Regions from separate parts of the Homo sapiens genome. Here regions 1 and 3 are each linked to region 2. The links are contacts of gene promoters, found by promoter capture Hi-C in blood cells and fetal thymus (Javierre and others, 2016). All regions are on one chromosome and are shown on one strand. The core of a region is centred on a gene start or on the middle of the fragment in contact, and the rest is flanking DNA. Distances in the headings are between cores, read along the strand shown. Region 1 overlaps NFKB1 (nuclear factor kappa B subunit 1). Region 2 holds the start of BDH2 (3-hydroxybutyrate dehydrogenase 2). Region 3 overlaps NFKB1 (nuclear factor kappa B subunit 1).

What was found. Contacts are between HindIII fragments. The CHiCAGO score rates a contact against its expected background, and 5 or more counts as called.
Region 1: a contact is called between a fragment that was not itself captured here and the fragment with the promoter of BDH2 in region 2, in 1 of 17 cell types (total B cells). The highest score is 5.3, in total B cells.
Region 3: a contact is called between a fragment that was not itself captured here and the fragment with the promoter of BDH2 in region 2, in 15 of 17 cell types (total B cells, M2 macrophages, naive B cells and 12 more). The highest score is 10.5, in total B cells.

The regions. Positions count from the first base shown.
Region 1 is chr4:102,555,019-102,558,551 of GRCh38, reverse strand. The region is part of intron 5 of NFKB1 (nuclear factor kappa B subunit 1); the gene reads right to left. Among named protein-coding and RNA genes, the nearest start is that of NFKB1-AS1, 54 kb to the right of the region's middle. The HindIII fragment of the contact is 5,146 bases long and covers 1-3,533 here.
Region 2 is chr4:103,098,085-103,101,300 of GRCh38, reverse strand. It overlaps BDH2 (3-hydroxybutyrate dehydrogenase 2), which reads left to right and starts at 1,467. Exons shown (of 10, transcript NM_020139.4): 1 at 1,467-1,518. The HindIII fragment of the contact is 3,413 bases long and covers 1-2,350 here.
Region 3 is chr4:102,576,550-102,579,748 of GRCh38, reverse strand. It overlaps NFKB1 (nuclear factor kappa B subunit 1), which reads right to left. Exons shown (of 24, transcript NM_003998.4): 7 at 2,710-2,873; 8 at 710-868. Among named protein-coding and RNA genes, the nearest start is that of NFKB1-AS1, 76 kb to the right of the region's middle. The HindIII fragment of the contact is 3,879 bases long and covers 1-3,199 here.

The DNA of each region.
Region 1 (3,533 bases), core at 395-2,894, 540 kb after region 2:
ATAATTAAGACAGGATAAAATGTTATTTATGGAAGGCAATTACTAAAATATAAAGGGTTGGGTTAGGTGGCAGGTAGTGGGTGAGGAGTGGAGATAACTGTACTCTTTTTTTTGTTATTTTGTCTTTTAAAAAATGGCCAATTGAATACTATGCAGAAATGAAAAAGAACAAGATCATGTCCTTTGCAGGGACATGGATGGAGCTGGAGGTCATTATCCTTAGCAAACTAACACGAGAACAGAAAACCCATTATTACAGATACTGCATATTCTCACTTATAAGTGGGAGCTAAATGATGAGAACACATTGCCACATAGAGGGAAACAACACACACTGGGGCCTATCAAAGGGTGGAGGGTGGGAGGACAGACAGGACCAGGAAAAAGAACTAACAGATATTAGGCTTAATACCTGAGTGATGAAATAATTAGTACAACAAACCCCCATGACACGTCTACCTATGTAACAAACCTGCACATCCTGCACATAAAACTTAAAAGTAAAAAAAAAAAAAAAAAAGGCTAGATATCAATGTAGCATCTCAATAGGCTATTTAAATTAGAATATGATTATTACACACCAGAGCAGAACACTGGTCTAAATTGGAGGCAGGGTTTCTGGCTGGGGGCTCTGGTTGCTGCACTGGCCCTACAGTATCTGGTAAAAAGGAATCTAACCACTAAGAGGTAGGAATTCTGCCAGCTGTGAGAAAGTGAAGGGAGGGCAACTCTCGAATAATCATCCTTCGAAAACTAAGGCAGCAGTTCTTCCCTCAAATTCCAAGACACCCCCTTGTACTTCTCTTTTCCCACCCTAACTGCTATTGCCCATTAGGCATTCTCTCTTGTACTGATGAGTCTTGGCACCAGACTCAGATATTTCCTCTATGCTTCATTTTGTTGTTTCCCTCAGGGATCCAGGATTTGCATTTCTGGTCCATCTCAATTTCACTGTCTGTTATTCCTCAAATGAGAGGGCCCTTCTTTGATATTCACTGTGGTGATGGATAGGAACAACTACCCCACAGGACTTTATCAGGGGTAGTCCTGATAGTAGTGCAGGGGTACACCTCCAAGATCTCAAACTAGTGGAGTATGTTTCAATAAAGAGCACAGGCTTTGGAGTAAGACATAGCTGGCTCTGAATCTGGGCTCCCATGACCATCTGGGGGACTCTGGGAGAGTTACTTAACTTTTTTACTTGCTTTCTCATTTGTAGAATGTGAATACAAATATATAATCTCTAAGTTTTCTGAGGATTAAAGGAGGTAAAGTGTCTAGTACAGTTTTTGCTATATCAAAACCACAAAATAAATGACAGCAATTCTTATTTCTCTCTTCCTACCTTAAGCAGATATCTGCAGTTGAGATTCTCTCTTGACTTTAATGAGAAGGTAGAAGTCACTGCGTGCAAGTTCCTTCACTCTCTCTTCTCCTTACTGTCACTGAGGCTCAAAACATCCCTGTTACTTCACATATCCTCTCCTAATTCAGAGAAACATGTTTGTTCCCTTTTCCAGGGCTAACCATTCTGTTTTTACCCTTAATGTTTATTCCTGATCTTCTTGAATTACCCTTCTCTTTCTCTCTTCCAAAGGATTTTTTCCCTTGTCTACAGATGAGCACTGCTTTTCTTCCTTATTCTAAAAAAAAGCCCCTTCTGGATAATGATGATGACAACTGTAAAGGTTAACATTAATTGAAACCTATGGGCTGGGCATGATACCAAGAAATACTGAACGATTCTTTCATTTGCTCTTCTCTACAATCCAATGAGAAAGGTTCTTAAGAGGAACTTAAACCTGTTTGAATGCCATTCTATTTCTCCCTACAAAGTACATAAGAAAATCTCTAATTACTAATGCTGAACCATTACCACTTAATCTGAGGCCCTTTGCAAATGTAAGTAATCCCCCGATCCATCAAATGAAAAAGTGTGTAAAGGTCATGACAGATTCCATGTTTCCAAACCCACTAGCCATTTATTATTCCTCAACCCTACTTGACCTCTTTGGGAATGGGATATGTTACCATTCCCTCCTTGAAAGTCTCCCCCAACTCCCCATTTCACTGGCTGCTTTTGCTAAGGCACTCTTCTTCCTGCTCAAAGAGATGTTTCAGCAGAGATCGATGCTCAGTCCATTTCTCACCTTTATCGTGATCACTCCCTTGACATTCTTATCAAGTCTCCTGGATTGAATTGTCTACTCCATGCAGATGATGGCTAAATTGAAATCTCATGTTCTCATCTTCTTTTTAAGCATGTGCAAAATTTCCAGCTGTTTGTAGGGTATCTTCCTGTCCATAATACCGTTACAGCTCAATGTGCCCAAAACTGAACTAATCACCTTTCTTCTCAAAGCTACTCCACCTCCTGGAAATGGAAATACAAATGCTGCCTTCTAAAAAAGTGCAGCAAAATCGTCTTTTCATCTTGGATTCCTCTCTGTCTCTTGTCTTTTATGTTTAACCAGTTGCCAAACTTCAGCTGAGTACCACCCCAAAAATCTCAGTTTGTCCCTTTCTTCCATTCTCATTCCTTAGTTTATCTATCTTAGCTTGAACTCTTAGTTTAGCTCATGAAGAATCACTGCAATTCTTCCAACTAGTGTCTCTGGGCCTTTCCCTTCCAATATCAGTTAGCAGATTGCTACCAGATTTGTAGTCCTAAAGCACAATGCTGCTGATAATTTCTCATTCCTATATAAAATTTCTATAGCTTACCCATTTTCTAAAAACATACAGTTTAAATCCTTGCATGATTTGGCCTTATCTACTATCTCCAGCCTTCTTACCACCCTTGCCTTCCACGTGCTCTTCATTCCAGCAAATTATTTACTATTCTCCATTCGATCTCAGAGATTTCTACTTTTGAGCCTTTGCTGCTTTTTCTGCTGTGCTGTTTTCTCTCGTTAGATCTATGCTTTCATACATCTCTCCCTTGAATCCTTCTATAATCATCCCAACTAGCCGACTCTTAGAAATTTATCTTTACATTAGAGCAATTAGGTCATTTACTCTTTCATTCAAAAATTATCTTGTTCAACAATTCCCACATGGCAGCCGCAGGTGCTGGTTATGCTGGTGATTCAGGTATTTAAGGGCATATCTTCGTCTCTCTATTAAATGGATTGTTTCCTGAGGACAAAGGCACTATTTAATTTTCTCTGTTTTTCCAACCCCTAGAACAGAACCAGTACCTACTTAATCAATATTTGTTAAAAGAGCTAGTGAATAAATAAATAATTGTCTCCAGGCTACACTGAAAAAGGAGGGAGCAGAAAAGTGGTGTTCCCAGGCAACATTAGGAAAGGCTGAGGACAGTGGGGCCCAACAGGCTATCCAGCTGTTGAATGGTTACTGTCCTTTGGCAGGGTTCATCTCCCTAATCTAACTCTGAGGGATCCCTGAGGAGTTTCTGCAAAGTCCTAGCAAAAGTTGAGTACATGAAGCTGATTAACTTTTGGAATTTTACTAACTCCTCTGCTTGAAACCAGTTAGGAACACCTAACCCTGGCAATATTCTTATTCCT
Region 2 (3,216 bases), core at 218-2,717:
ATAATTAAATTTCTCCAACAATGTCTTCATCATAAGAATCACTAACATGTATTAAGCACCTGTGTGGCAAACATTGTGCTGATGGATTCACAGGCTTAGTCGTTCCTCCTCACCACATCCCTGAGGTAGGTGCTATTTTACCTTCATTTTACAGATGAGAAACATAAGAGGTTCAGAGATTTAAGTGATTTACTCACTTAGCTAGTGAGAGAGAGATATGGGACTTGCTCTAGTCTTACTGACGCCACAGTCTTTGTTCTTATCCCCTGTGACTGTTAGAAATCACTTAGCTCCATGTAACAAAAAACGTGAAAAACACTAAAGTTTATTGTCCTCACATAAGAAGTCCAGAGGAGTTGTTGCCTTGAGGCTGTCATCAGGGCCGCAGGCTCCTTCTCTTGCTGGTCCCTGTCGTTAATGTGTGCCTCTGGCCTCAGATGAACTCACTAAATGGCTGCTCTGTCCCACGGCATCCTATCTTCATTCCAGGCAAAAAGAAAGGGAGGAGCAAAAGCTAAAAGCCTTTCAGAAGGGCTTACTTTTCTATTTAAGAAGGAGGCCCTCCTCAGAAATTCCCACCTGCATTTCATTGGCAACATCTATGCTGCTTGGCCACCCCTAGCAGCAAACAAGGCTATGAAGTAGAGACTTTTGTTTTCCAGCTTTGACAAGTGAAAAAAGGGGAAAGTGAGTTGGATGGGTGCTGAGGAAACCAATTTATACAGTACATGTACAAGTAGCCTACACAATCACTCTGCTCACTGGCACTACAGATAAAGCACATGTTGCTATCCTAACCTAGAGGGCTCATGAGATCTAGTCCTTTCTTTTTGACCTTATATCTCTGTTCTCTTCAGCCAAACTGGGGTTTTTCGCTGTTAACATGTTCCCTTTTAAGCCTCCACCCTGTCATCCAAGTTTCACGTTCTCCCCAACCCCATTCCCAGTGTAGTAAAAGGCTCCTGGCATTCTGCCACTAAATGTGCATTAGTGTTAGAATATTCTGAGCATGAAAAAATAAAAATCACAACTGTATCTCAAACAAAAAGGATTTTTTTTTTTATTTCTCTCCCTTAAAACAATCCAGGCCAAGTGACAGGAAGGCTCCAGAATTTTCAGTGACCTGGGTTCCCTCTATTTTGTTGCTCTGCTATCTTCCACACGCAGTTTCCAGCTCAGCCAATCTCGTCTACCCTGGCACCGCATATAGTAGGCATAAACAAAACAGAGAAGTGGAGAGACTGAAGTGAAGGAAATGATTTCCGCATCCTAAGTAAGCTCTAAGGTGCTTTTCCACTTTTCACCTTCCACTTGGAATTCATAGTTCTACCTGAATTCCACTAGATGGCAGCACATACATTTATAAAGTGTATGGATGGAGCCACTAAACTCTGAAAGCAGGGAAACTACAAATCCCAGCATGCATTATTAAGCGCTTGACTTGCTTCCAGACAAAGGTTGTCTCAAGTTTGTTGCTCAAACCGAGTTCTGGAGAACGCCATCAGCTCGCTGCTTAAAGTAAGATTTCCTAATACTTTTGAAATGAAACTTTAGAACGGAAAGAGGGGAGGTTTAATTTTTAGATGTTGTTTTTTTCTGCACGTTGCCTGTTTCAAAATTAATCTGAGCAGTTAGATCAGTGTAAAGATGGGTTTTTAAAGAGCCTGAAACTCTGTGGTATGTATGTTTTATAAAGTAGCCCAAGAAAAAAGGATTCTTACGGTATCCTAAGTGAAGAGTTTTCTTCCTGGCTCTTGAAAACAATGGCTTCCTGAATATGCTGTTTGTGTCTCTGCTAATCAAAAATCAACATTTTGATTCTAACTTTTGGACTAAGGAAGCCAACATGTATGGTTTTCACATTGGATATATTGAGAGGTGCCTTGTTTTACCATTTCAGGCCGTGTTTGCTCTCATTTTCTCAAAGAAATCTGTTTTAGTTTGAGATTACAGTTTATCAAATGTTAAGGCTTTGACCCCAAAATCTGGTCCCAGAAAGACAGGAAGGCCAGCTAAGAGGAGGTTTTCAGAGTGCATAGAAAGGCTGCTCTGTGCTTCGGCATTTGTTCTGGAAGTGCTTCTTCGGTTGGCAAAGATTCCTAGCAAAACCTTTGACTGGAGGCTTTACAGGGCCATACACCCAATATCACTAATGACAGTGTTGTAAAATAGCTTTTGTGCACCATGCTTAGGATTCAAGGAGGATAAAGTATATCTTTCTAAAGTTATACTTTAGAAACTGTCATTCCATGTTGAAATGATAAACATTCCATGTTTATCTTTTGTGTAAGAAGTAAAAAAGCAAAAATTCATTGCATCAAAGTAGGTCAGGCACTGTTAAAGCCAAGCTTCCCCATCGCCTAAAAAATGTGGACAAACTCAGAGGAAGTCAGTGATTATAAGCTGATCCCTGGAGCCAGTTCTTACATAATTGTGTTAGTCTGCTCCTCCAAGAAGCAGACTCCAAGATAGAATTAAATATGCATGGATTTTATTAGGGGAAATGCTGTTGTGAGAGAGAATGAGGAGAGAACTAGGTAAGGCTGTGAGAGCCATCAGACCTCGATGCAAGTCCACCCGCGAGGGAGGAAAAGAAGGAAACCAGGTTGAGTGGAAGCATCCCAGACAGCTGTGCAGTCTAAGAGAACTTCAGCAAGGTAATAAGGAGCTTCTCTAGCCAGTCATCCGTTGGGGAGGAGGTCTATGTCTCCCAGAAATGAGTCTGCCTTAGTAAGCATGCATGCTCAGGCACTGGCTTGTAACGGCCCCGAGAAGGTGGCCTCAGCACAAACCCAGAGAGGCAGCAGCAGCTGCGCCTCATTGTCCATTACTTCCTGGGGTCAGCGGTCTGCGAGGCACAGGCTCCTGGTGCCACAGTGGGGATTTAGAGAGGCCCGCAGGGCTTTGAGTACCATGAGACAATGCCATGAGATCTTCCCTTGGACCTGCAACAAGAAGGCCTAGGTTTGAATTCATAGCTGCAAAACACTGGGCAAATAACATTTCTTTGAAATTAGCCACGTTGGTGATCAGGTCCTACCTATCTCATCTCTGAAACACTTCTCCAATCCACCTATCTCTCCATCCCTGCTATTTTCTCCAGCCCTGCTATTTCACCAGCGCCCCCACTAGATAACCCTAGCAGCCTCCTAATGGCACCCCATGCTCCTGCCCAGGTATGTTCTCCACAGCAGTCCTTCCAAAATACGAATCTGA
Region 3 (3,199 bases), core at 453-2,952, 520 kb after region 2:
AACAAGAAAGTTGCATGGTAAATGCTGAAGATTACTGTAAAACTCTTAAAAAGTCCTAGGAACTATAAATTAATATATATATACATATATATATATATATATTTTTTTTTTTGAGATGGGGTCTCATTATGTTGCTCATGCTGGGCTGAAACTCCATATCCTCCCACCTCAGCCTCCCAAGTAGGTGAGACTACAGGGCATGACGCCAAACCCGGCTTGAAATAGGATTTTGAAGTCACATGCTGTCTATGCTACTCATTCATTTAACTTCAAGTTTCTCTCTTGATAAAGCTAGTAACATATGGGAAAGAAAATGGGTAAGAATAATAGTTGTCTTTTATAAACTCCTTTCCAGAGTCCCCCCACCACCAAAGAAAATTGGGATTATTCTCCCTTCTAAAAGTATCAACCATATATCTTTATAGCAAGACATTCATAAATAAGATGAGATGTGACATTTCATGTAAAAGACTAAAAAATGTACATCAAAGGAAAAAGAATTACATGTATTGAGCCCCTCTTAAAATACCTCATTTAACCTGGACATCAACCTTTCAAGCTAGATTTTCCTATTCACATTTTACAGATGATAAAGCTGAGGCTTAAAGTGATTAAGTTACCTTCCCCAGGACTCAGCTAGCAAGTAAATGGCAGGGCAGGGCTGGAAGTCTATTCTTGGTGTGCCCCCTGTTGGAAGTGAAGTACTCACTACTGTCATAGATGGCGTCTGATACCACGGGTTCCAGGCGCCTTGTGAAGCTGCCAGTGCTATCCGGAAGAAAAGCTGTAAACATGAGCCGCACCACGCTGAGGTCCATCTCCTTGGTCTGCTGCAGAGCTGCTTGGCGGATTAGCTCTTTTTCCCGATCTAGGGCCATACAGCACAGTCCATTCATGCCCAGGGAAGTGTGAACATTTAAAAGACCATGCTTTTATAAAGCCCAAATAATGTAAACTTACAATAAAAACCCATTTTTCCTCTTTTGAAACTCTTCATATTGCTAATAAAGTGTTAAAAACAGTCTCATTTATGTCATCCAATATGAAAGGCATCAAAGAAGACCTGCATTTTCTCCGGATTACAGTAAAAACTCTCTTCCGTGTATCAGATCGCCTCCCTCCTCTCCTGTCCTTCCCCCACCTTTCCCTTTCCTCTCTACAGTAAGAGTTAAAGGCACACAGGATGTGATGGAATGGAATTGAATAACCCTACTAGGCACCAGCTGTATTGAGAAGTGTGCAAATTATTCCAAGAGCTGCTTGGGCACAGGGAGTGAGCTCATTCCACAGTGCCAAGCAGACAGCCTGGCACATAGTAGGTACTCAAAAACAACTTCTGAAGGAACTGAATGACTCAGGGACATCTGTTTCCTTCCCTCCTGCTGGAGTTTTCACGCTGATGGATATAGTCATAATTAAGCTATAATATCATAAAAGGTAGTGATTCAAGAGACAAGTACTACAAGAGAGCTACAAATGAAGTGATGTGGGATTTCAAAGAAGGAGAGAGTTCAGAGGGCTTTGGAGCAGAAGAGGTATTTGCTCTGAATATTGAAAAGGTGGCAGAATTTGAACACATTCATATAAGAGAGTGGATAAAGGCATTCCAGGAAGAGGAGAGAGCAAAAATAGAAAGAATGTGCCAAGGCAGGAAAGTGAGAAATCATGGTGCTCCTACCAAGTAGTAGACTTTGACCTGAAGGGGCAAAACGGGAAATAGATTGGAAATGCAGCCTGAGGCCAGCTCTTGGGAGATCCAAAAAGCCAACTTACAGAATTTGGATTTTGTAGGCAAAACGGAGACACGGAGCAGCAACAAGATACAGAACTTCAGTAATATCTATCTGGCTACAAGATGTAAACTTGATTAGAAGTGGGGAGGGACAGAGACCAGGGAGAAGACTACTATAAGTGGAACAATGAAAATGGAATGTAGTGTGGAATGCCAGAGAGCACGGAATGGCTGGACCACAGCCTCGCAGCACAGGCGAGGAGGGGGAGTCAGTGAGGATGGGAAGGTTTTGAGTCTGGGTATCAGAAGATGGAGTATATTTAGTGGAAAACTGATAATCGGTTTTGAATCACATGAGTATCAGATGACGACTGGACGGCCAGAGTAAAGGACAAAATACAAAAGTAGAAATGGGGCATGTGGTGGGACAGGGAATGGGGTTGAAAAAAAAATTTGAGAAAAGGCAAGAAAATGGAAAATCATACAATTTTTATGATAAAGATAATAGTTTATAATGTGTCTGCAGAGCCCAAAGAAAGAAAAATGCCTTATAATAAGGTGAGTTGGGGAAGGTAAAACAGAGGTGTTCTTTAGACAAAGTCTTGATTTCTGCATTGGTTTTCGAGAGGGTGAAATGGAAACGGTGGGGTGTTTTTGGTAAAGGAAGACACATACAAAGGTATAAATATGCCTCAGTTATTCAGAGAGCAGAGATGGCAAGAGGAGGATGCAAGGTGGGCTGGAGATGAGGCTGAAAGTTGCTGGGGCCAGAGAAGCAGGGCTTTGTATGACAGGCTATGGAGCTATAGTTTTTATCCTAGAAGTAGCAGGATGCCATCAAAGGTTTCTGAGCAAGGAAAAGGTGACAGCAGTGTGGGGTAGAGACTGGAAGGGATGCAGATGAACATATAATTCATACAGATGAAAACCAAAGCCTGGACCCCTTGGAGGATCAAGGCCAGGAAAATGATGCTTACCTCCCAGCTGCCGGTCCCCTCCACCTTCTGCTTGCAAATAGGCAAGGTCAGGGTGCACCAAGAGTCCAGGATTATAGCCCCTTATACACGCCTCTGTCATTCGTGCTTCCAGTGTTTCAAATACTTTTTTCTTTGTCACATGAAGTATACCCAGGTTTGCGAAGCTGGAGAAAAAACAGTAACAGCAGCAGCAACAACAACCAAAAGTTAGGCACTTAATGTCTAGGGAATCTGGCTTCACTTGTAAATTAAAAAAAAATACACAGGCCCTCAATGCTTTATACAAATCTCTTGGGGCTACATGCATTTCAGAATTTAGGGTATTTTTGATGTTAAAAAGGCAATATATGGCCTATACTGCATATTACATAATACTCTAAGCAGGTCTGGGGCACACAATGTAGTCAAACACGTTAGTATTTCCTCAGCGAAATATATAATTGGACTCACCAAATGGAAAAATAAAGACTATAAACAGCTACACATCAGG